Linked DNA regions of Homo sapiens: region 1 is linked to region 2. The links are contacts of gene promoters, found by promoter capture Hi-C in blood cells and fetal thymus (Javierre and others, 2016). All regions are on one chromosome and are shown on one strand. Each heading gives the region's core, a stretch centred on a gene start or on the middle of the fragment in contact. The rest is flanking DNA. Distances are from core to core; before and after follow the strand shown.

Region 1 (4,308 bases), core at 254-2,753, 3.0 Mb after region 2:
TTGGATGGAGTTTCACTCTTGTCACCCAGGCTGGAGTGCAATGGTGCTATCTCAGCTCACTGCAACCTCCACCTCCCAGGTTCAAGCAATTCTCCTGCCTCAGCCTCCCGAGTAGCTGGGATTACAGGCATGCGCCACCACACCCAGCTAATTTTTGTATTGTTAGTAGATGGGGATTCACCATGTTGGTCAGGCTGCTCTCAAACTCCTGACCTCAGGCGATCCACCTGCCTCGGCCTCCCAAAATGCTGGTATTACCGGCAGGAGCCACCACGCCTAGCCACTCATAGCATCTCTTAATAGAGAACTCTGTAAAATAAGATATTGAAAATGAAAATAAGATAAATACGTATTTTTAACCCAAACAAGATCTTGTCAGGCTACTTACTTTGAAACACATGATCTTCTTCAGTACTTGCCCCTAATGGCAGTAGTCTTAGTAAAGATTTAATTTTACAGGAAAAATGTTCCTTCTCAGCCCCCAAGCCAAATGTCCTCATCATCCTACCCTCAGAAACTCTATCCACACTTTGCCCAAGCCCCCGGAACTCACCAGTCTGGATTTGATCCGTCTCCAAGACCAAGCGGGGTGGTGCTCACACACCCCTGATCCTCCATCTGTGAAAGCAGAGACCAGAGAAGCATTTGATCTGCCTAAGACATCAGAGACAAGTTCAGTGGGCGCTCTCTGAGCCATTTCCTAAAAGTAGAGCCTGGGCTTCTGGTCCAATCTAGGGAGAGAGCACATGGTCCTCCAGACTTTGCTGACCTTATACTGGTCTATATGGTCTAGGTTCATCAAAGTGTTACTTTTGCCCCCTCTTCAAATTGTGCTGTTTAAACTTCTATTTCTCCATCTTCATCACTATCATGTCCCCTTGGGGTTGGAATCTCAAGAAGCCAACATATTGAAATGTTCAGAGCAATAAATGGTCTCCATAATCTTTGCAGTGAATACATCAACTCTATTTTGCTATCCCAATAAGCTTTTAAATATCCTAGTTTCATATGAATTTACATCAGGCCATAATGAGGCAATGGGACAACATTTAAACCACATATAGACTAAGTGGCGTTTAACTCACCAACTCAAGTGTGGAAGAAATTTCACATTATTTCCTTTAAACCTACTTTTCTCATTATGTCCTTCTGTAGACTTCCATGGGAATCTGGGGAGCTTATAAATACTTGAAAAAGTCAACAAGAGTTATTTAATCTTCAGCCCATTGTGATTGCTGCCACTATCCTCACTGTCTGATTCTGCAGGGCCCCTTGAAGTGGGCGGCTCCACCGCAGCCATGACACTGGGGCGCAAGGCACCTTGCCAAGCCGACCTAGGTTTCAGGCTTCTGGAGTTGAGCACTCCATTGGCAGTTTCTTCTGCAGCTTTGCCATTCTCTAGGTAAGGGCTAGGGCTGCTGCCAAGATTCCATCACGTCATAGTGCTATTGTATCATGGCCTCTTACCACTCTAGGAGAGGGGCTGGAGCATCCCTAATTATGCAGGTGAAAGCCCCTCTCAGGCAATCTGAAGTCTGGCTTTGCTAGAACTCTGTGCTGGCCTAGAATAAACAGGCCAAAGGTGCCCACGTGCCTGCTACCCCTACAGTCTGAAACTTCTCCAGTGAACACTGCTGTTTCAGGTCTGACAATCTGTGCCCCCTGGTCATTTGCCCTTATTTGTACATCAGATGCCCTATCCCAGAAAAGGAGATGATGAATCTCTGGAGTATGAATCACTTCATTATTTTATATCATTTTTTAAAATTATCTGATACTCTAAAGCCACGCAAAAAGATTAAGGGCATATTTGAACTACCTTTTAACAAGGCATGCTGAATATATGGTTGATTGTCACACGGTTCAATAAAAATTCACTAAAGCAATAGTGAAATAAATGTAAAAAGTCTAAATTCAAAATGTAAAGAGAATGGGAGAGGAGACAATGAAGAAGAAATTAACATGTTTTTTTGAGACTGAAAGTTGATATAGGAATGGTAACTGATTTACCAGAGCTGAGAAAGCTTAAAACATGACTTCAGGAAAGGTTTCCAAAAAAGAAATCCTATTCAGGAAAGAAAGAAAAAAAGGAAGGAAGGAAGGAAGGAAGGAAGGGAGGAAGGGAGGAAAGGAGAAAGGGGGAAGGGAGGAAGAGGGGAAGGGAGGGAAGGAGGGAGGGAAGGAGGAAGGAAGGAAAGAGGGGAGGGAGGGAGGGAAGGAAGGGAGGGAGGGAGGGAAAGAAAGGGAGAAAAAGAAGGAAGGAAAGAAGGAAGAGATGGAGGGAAGGTGAGACGGGAAGGAGGGAGGAGAGAGAAGCTCACAGAAATTGAAGGCTCCAGGTAACCTAGAAGATAGACTGAAATGTATGTGATCAGTTGATAATCTGTATAAGGAGCAGTTAAGCTCTCAGATCCCCATGCCCTCATCACAGCCAAGCAACTGCTCTTCCCTAACCCCCACAGCATACTGCAGTGCTTGTTCTCAAAGGACACTGCAGCAGAGAGACCCTAGACTCTGGAACACCTGGCACCCAGAAAGCAGGAGAAGGCATCCAACTAAAGACAGGTTCTGAGAATGCCAGCTCCCTTCCCTACCTCACTCTCAAAACACTTTCAAATAAATTTAATTTTAAGAAAATATCTGCTGACAGAATATCAGAGGATCCCTTGGTGGAGAAAATAAATGCCCCCCAAGAAGCTCTATATATAATTTTTGTGAAATAGTTTTGTGAATAGATCTCTCAGTTGTCTAATCATCAATATGCCGGAGATGATGATGCCCAGTCACTTTGGCATGATTGACGTTTTGGACCATAGAATTCCTTGTTGCTGAGGCTGTCTTGTGCATTGCAGGATGTTTCAAAGCATCCTTGGTTTCTCCCACTACATGTCAGTGATGGCCATTCAAAAATGTCCCGAGACAATGCCAAATGTCTCCTAGGGGAAACAATTATGCCCCATATAAGTACTGCCACCCTACAAGGAAACCCATTAGCCCATTAGTCAACAAATACCACAAACATACACACAGCTCCCAAACAGCTTTCTAATTACTCACTTCTAATGATGAGCAGCCAACAGAAACTCCAAAGCAAAATAAGACAGAAACTAAAATAAACAGAACAAAGAAACTCTTAAAAATCAAACAGGGAGAATTTCTATGTGTGTTTAAAATTGTCTGTGAGAAAAAAAGTTGTTAAGTACAAAATAAATAAAAATATGGAGATAAATGTAACAAGCAGTTAAAATGCTAAGGACTTTTGTCTCAAAAATGAGGTTTTGGTGGCTCACGCCTGTAATCCCAGCACTTTGGAAGGCCAACACAGGCAGACTGCTGAAGTTCAGGAGTTCAAGACCAGCCTGGCCAACATGGTGAAACCCCATCTTTACTAAAAATACAAAAAATTAGCTGAGTGTGGTGGCACATGCCTGTAGTCCTAGCTACTCAGGAGGCTGGCGCAGGAGAATCACTTGAACCCAGGAGACAGAGGTTGCAGTGAGCCGAGACTGCACCACTGCACTCCAGCCTGGGCAACAGAGCGAGACTCCACCTCAAAAAAAAAAAAAAAAAAAGCGGAATGTGGAGATGATTTGAGTGACATCAGTAGATATGGAATTACCTGTCACTATTAGTGCTAAGAAAACATTAGGTGATAACTGCCAAATGTGTACACAGACAAGTGATATAAAAATTTAAAACAGAGGAACACACTTAGCTTAGCTTTAGGAGATTCTGGCATCTCATAGGAAAAGGGATCAAATTATAAATGATATACGTCTGGAAATTCAGTAAAAATAGTAGGTTGTGCACAGTGTTTTTGCCATAGTAGTGAAGGCACGGATTTCTTTTGTTTGGTGTTCTTGGGGACAAGATGACAAATGTAAAAGTCCCTTAATTAGTGAGAAATCACCAGCCTTCTTTGGATCTACCCCACTTAGGGAGAGGAGATGGTAAAATGACGAATAAAGGGAAAAGTGACTGAGGAAAGAAAGGTGAGAGGAAGCTGCAGAGGCAGGAGGTGGAGGGAAAGTGCAGATCTGCTGGCGCGGGGTCTGGGGTCTCAGGTCTCGGCCGCCTGGGGAGCCACCTGCCTGGAGAGGCAGGTTGCGATGGCAGCGCTGGGCTACAGACCCCGCCTTATCTGCGGGGAGGAGAGGACGGGTGGAGTCACTTGCCGCATTGCCACAGCCCCCTCCTCCTAGTTTTAAGAAGAACCGAAGCATTGTTTCTGCTTTAACAGCAGTCACTCATTCCTTATAACTGAAAACAACGACGGTGGGCTCTGGCACCTCTTTCGGCTCCTTGTAC
Region 2 (4,261 bases), core at 189-2,688:
TTACTTTTCTCTTTCTACCTTTTTGAACTGTTCGAATTTCTTGTGATGAGCGTCGTTACTTTTATAACATTTAAAACAAAAGGTAAACCTAAGGTTTAAGGATTGGAAGACTGGTAAGTGTGGTATCCCTGCTAGGAGATGGGGAGAAGTCAGACATTTGGGAGGAAACAAATTCTGCAGTGAATCTGATGTGTTACAATGAAGGGCTGTAGTGATGCTTGGAAATGTGTGGAGAGTTTGAGGATCGGGCAGTTGAAAGCAGGAGTAATTGATATAATTACTCCAGATGACAGAATAAATTAGAGAATGGTGCAGAGGGAGGGCAAAAATAAGGATGTGAGAGGACAGATTTTTAACAGTGCTAACTGAGCACCAGCCTTGGATTGACCTATGTAAGACATTGTCTTTCTATTACTGCTACTTCAGCATGGTGGAAACACAGGGTCTCTGAGAGATGGCCAGTCTAAGGAAGGGACCTCTGCAGGCTTCCAAGCAGGGCAATTTTGTGGTCAAGGAGCAGAGGAGGATCACAATGAGGTAATGCAAGGGACTCATGGTGTCAGAGGAGAGACCTGGGCTGGGAGACTATTAGGGCCCACTGCAATTATTTAGCTGAAAAGCGAGGTCCTAGAATGGGGCAGCAGCAGTGGGGATGGAGAAATAAGGACAAAGCATATTAAGACAAGTAGTTTAGGTGGGGAAGGAGAGTGAAGAGAGTCATGAGGCATTGAGTACAAATCTCTGCCTGCCGTTCAATACCTTTTGAGCTCAGTTTGCCAGTCTGTATCATATATTTAAATAAATGTGAAGGTTAAGTGAAATAATGCATTCAGTAAATGTTAACTGTGATTGTTAGCTCGGGTATTGGACTCAGATTTACCAGACTTCAAGTCCCTTTTTTATCAATTACTAGCTGTGCAACCCTGTCCAAGTCATTAATGTCTCTGAGCCCAGTTCCTCTTTTGTAGACGGGGATAATCTGTTGTCATGAAAATGAAAGAGCACAAGTAAAGTGCTAGCAGGACTTGGCACAAAGTAGGCGCTCAATAAATGGCAGAGCTACGGGTGTTACTATTGTAACGGGTAAACCACTGGGCACAGAGCCTGGCACACAGTAAGGACTCAAAACATGTTAATTTGTATTATAATACGAAGGTAGAAGTCGAGAGGCAGGAATGCAGGAGCTGCCCAGCCCGCAATAAAGGCGCGCTGGCAGCTCTCCCACCTTCCGCATCCCGCCCCGCCCGCAGCAGTGCGAGTCCTCCTCCTCCTCCTCCCCGCGCGCACTTGCCGCCCCCGCCCGACCGCGGTGCGGGACACTCACCCTCGCGGCTGCCCGCCACGTCCAGGGGCGTCCGGAGCAAAGAAGCTCTCGGCGGGGCTCCGCGTCCCGGCTTTCCTCAGCGGCAGCAGCCGGGCAGAGCGTCGGCCCCAGGCATAGTTTTCCCATCCCGTCATGGGCGGGAGAGCCTTCCTCCCGGTCACGTGGGCTGGCCCGCAGCGCAGCATTCTCTTTTTAGCAGCTGTTTGGAAAAAACTTGCAGTGCTGATGACAACTCGGGTGTGTCGATGCATCTCTGCGTTTGTAGAGCTTGTTAGCGTATTTGGAGGTTTTGTGCGCCAGAGTGATCAGAGTGATTGTTTCCCACGCGTTTGCAAAGGTGTGCATGTACTTGAGTGTGATGATAAATCATAGGGATGTGTTTAGTTGTGTGTGTGCGTACGTGCGTTTATCCAAATTTTCATCAGGGCTGTTCGGTGTATGTACACATGCATGCACATGTCCAAGATGGCAGCTTGGTGTAAAACTGGAGGGCACATCAGTGGTTGGATGTACACGATAGTGGCTAGACATCTGTATGTGGGGTGCATGTTTAAATGTGTGTGTGACTGTGCAGGGGCTCATTCTGTGTGTTGGTTTGACATCTGTATGTGGGGTGTATGTTTAAATGTGTGTATGACTGTGCAGTGGCTCATTCTATGTGTTGATTTCTATGCATGCCTTGGTGTGGATTTTGTCCGGATGTGAGTGTGCACATACACACTAGTGTGGGTGAGTTCCCCTGTGTACCAGCTCTCATTTCTCTTCTCCCCAGAAGGTGAGGATTCACTGGTCTCACTCACTCTGGCCCAGCCTCAAGTCATTGAGAGACTTATGGAGGGTCTCAGCTCCCAGGATAGGCAAAGCAATCCTATTTGGGAATCAAGCAGGCACTGGAGGAAAGGAAATCCTCCAAGGCCTGGCTTTTGCTTCTCCCTGTTCCTTCCACTGCTCTCTTCCACTAGCTACCCATATTTCACTCTGCACAGCCAGAGCATCTGGTTAACAGCTGGTAAGTGACACAAAATTTACAGTCAGAATTTTAATACAGATATGCATTTGAATTCTAATGTTGTATCCACCACCTTAATCAAGTCAGATAATCTCACAGATGGTGTTTTATTTTCTAAAAAAAATGGGAGAATAATATTACCTGCACTGCCTTTACCCCAAAGTTGGGACACTAACTCATAAAGATGTTTGGTAAGCCATTGAACTATGTAGGGAATTATTACTAATATCACATAAATACTATTTGAGAAAGAAAGTTTGTAGGCTTAACAAACATTCATTCAACAAATATTTAATAAGCATCCATTGTGTGTCAGTCCCCAAGCAAGGTGCTGGGGACATAGAGGGAAACAAATAGGCTTGATGCCTACCCTCATGAAACTTAGAGTCCTCCAGCTGGGGATGACACAAGTGGTTACAAGTGAAATGAGTGTTATAGAAAAGAAAAGCTTAAAGTATAAACTGGGCAGTCAGGGGAAGGCCTGGGAAACTGATGTTTCAGGTGAACCCTGAGAGATGACTGAGACTTGTCTGAATGTAGGGGAAGTGTGAGCTCAAAAAATGAAGGAATGATAACATGTGGAGTGGAGTTTAGGGTGTTGATACACAGATGGCTGGAAAGGAAACTTCCATCCACCGCCTCTTGGGTCAGATGTGTCAGCAATTGGAAAGGTGAGGAAACTGCTTAGAATGCCTGGAGGCCATTCAGAATCTAAAGGGCTCAGGAAAGCCCCTCTCCTAGAGTAGAGTGGTAATATCTGTGTGTTATCCATGTGGCTCCATCATGACAGAGGTTGAAATCACTGGCATGCTCTCATTGGTTAAAAAAAAAAGGTTAATGAAAAGTTAAGAAAGGCAGTGCTGCTATACCTGGTAGTGTGAAACATTTAATAAACACTACTGATTGAATGAATGGGGGCACATGTTTTTCCAACTTTTGAAGGATACCTGGAACCTAGGTTTCCTGAAGCCTAGCAGAGTTCCTGGGTCCCTGTCCTATGGTTCCTTGCAGTGGTGATGGCTTCATGTAGCATGCAATCCAAAATACTTGTCCGGTGGCAGTTCCACGAGCTGCAGGAACTGTGTCAAGCTAGAATGGGGCTTAGAACTTCCTCTCCCTAGCCTCTCTCTGTCTTTACTCTCTGCTTGAATTCAGTCTACGAACATTTGTTTGTTTGTTTGTTTAAGATGGAGTCTTGCTCTGTTGCCTAGGCTGGAGTGCAGTGGCACAATCTCAGCTCACTGCAATCTCCACCTCCCGGGTTCAAACGATTCTCCCGTCTCAGCCTGCCAAGTAGCTGGGACCACAGGCGCGCAACACCACACTAGGCTAATTTTTGTACTTTTAGTAGAGATGGGGCTTCACTATTTTGCTCAGGCTGGTTTTGAAATCCTGGCCTCATGTCATCCAACTGCCTCGGCCTCCCAAAGTGCTGGGATTACAGGCGTGAGCCATTGCACCCGGCCACAGTCTATAAACATTTATTACCTATTATGAGTATGGGGACAAAGAGATGAACTTCTGAATGAGAACACAAATTACACCAGGAGGCAAAATACAATTAAGTGCCATAGGAAAGGTGCAAAGTGTGAACATGAAAGAGGAGGATTTTCCCCTTCGATTTCATTCAATTCATTTCACATCCATTCACATCTAGAGAACATGCTAGTATCCACCTAGAGAAGACGAATGATATTATGACATTGATGGCCACAGAGCGGGGCAGCCATGAGGCAGATGTGGCAGATTGGCTTGTTCCACAATTGTCCAAACTTTTCTTGGTGTGCTTTCCTATACAACAGAGACTAGAAAGCTAAAAATCCATTTCCTAGACTCCTTGCTGTTGGGGCTCCCATTATAATTTAGGTTTAGCCAGTCCTGTGCACCTGGGAAAGACCTGAATTCAAAATTGTGTTCAGAAAAACAAA

Evidence for each region. The method cuts DNA at HindIII sites, captures the fragments that hold promoters and counts their contacts. A CHiCAGO score of 5 or more calls a contact.
Region 1: a contact is called between a fragment that was not itself captured here and the fragment with the promoter of C1QTNF2 in region 2, in 1 of 17 cell types (non-activated CD4 T cells). The highest score is 6.3, in non-activated CD4 T cells.

What each region holds. Positions count from the first base shown.
Region 1 is chr5:163,411,766-163,416,073 of GRCh38, forward strand. It overlaps LOC105377700 (a long non-coding RNA gene), which reads right to left and starts at 1,789. Exons shown (of 4, transcript XR_002956233.2): 1 at 554-1,789. The HindIII fragment of the contact is 1,038 bases long and covers 985-2,022 here.
Region 2 is chr5:160,369,188-160,373,448 of GRCh38, forward strand. It overlaps C1QTNF2 (C1q and TNF related 2), which reads right to left and starts at 1,439. Exons shown (of 3, transcript NM_031908.6): 1 at 1,325-1,439. The HindIII fragment of the contact is 8,188 bases long and covers 1-2,779 here.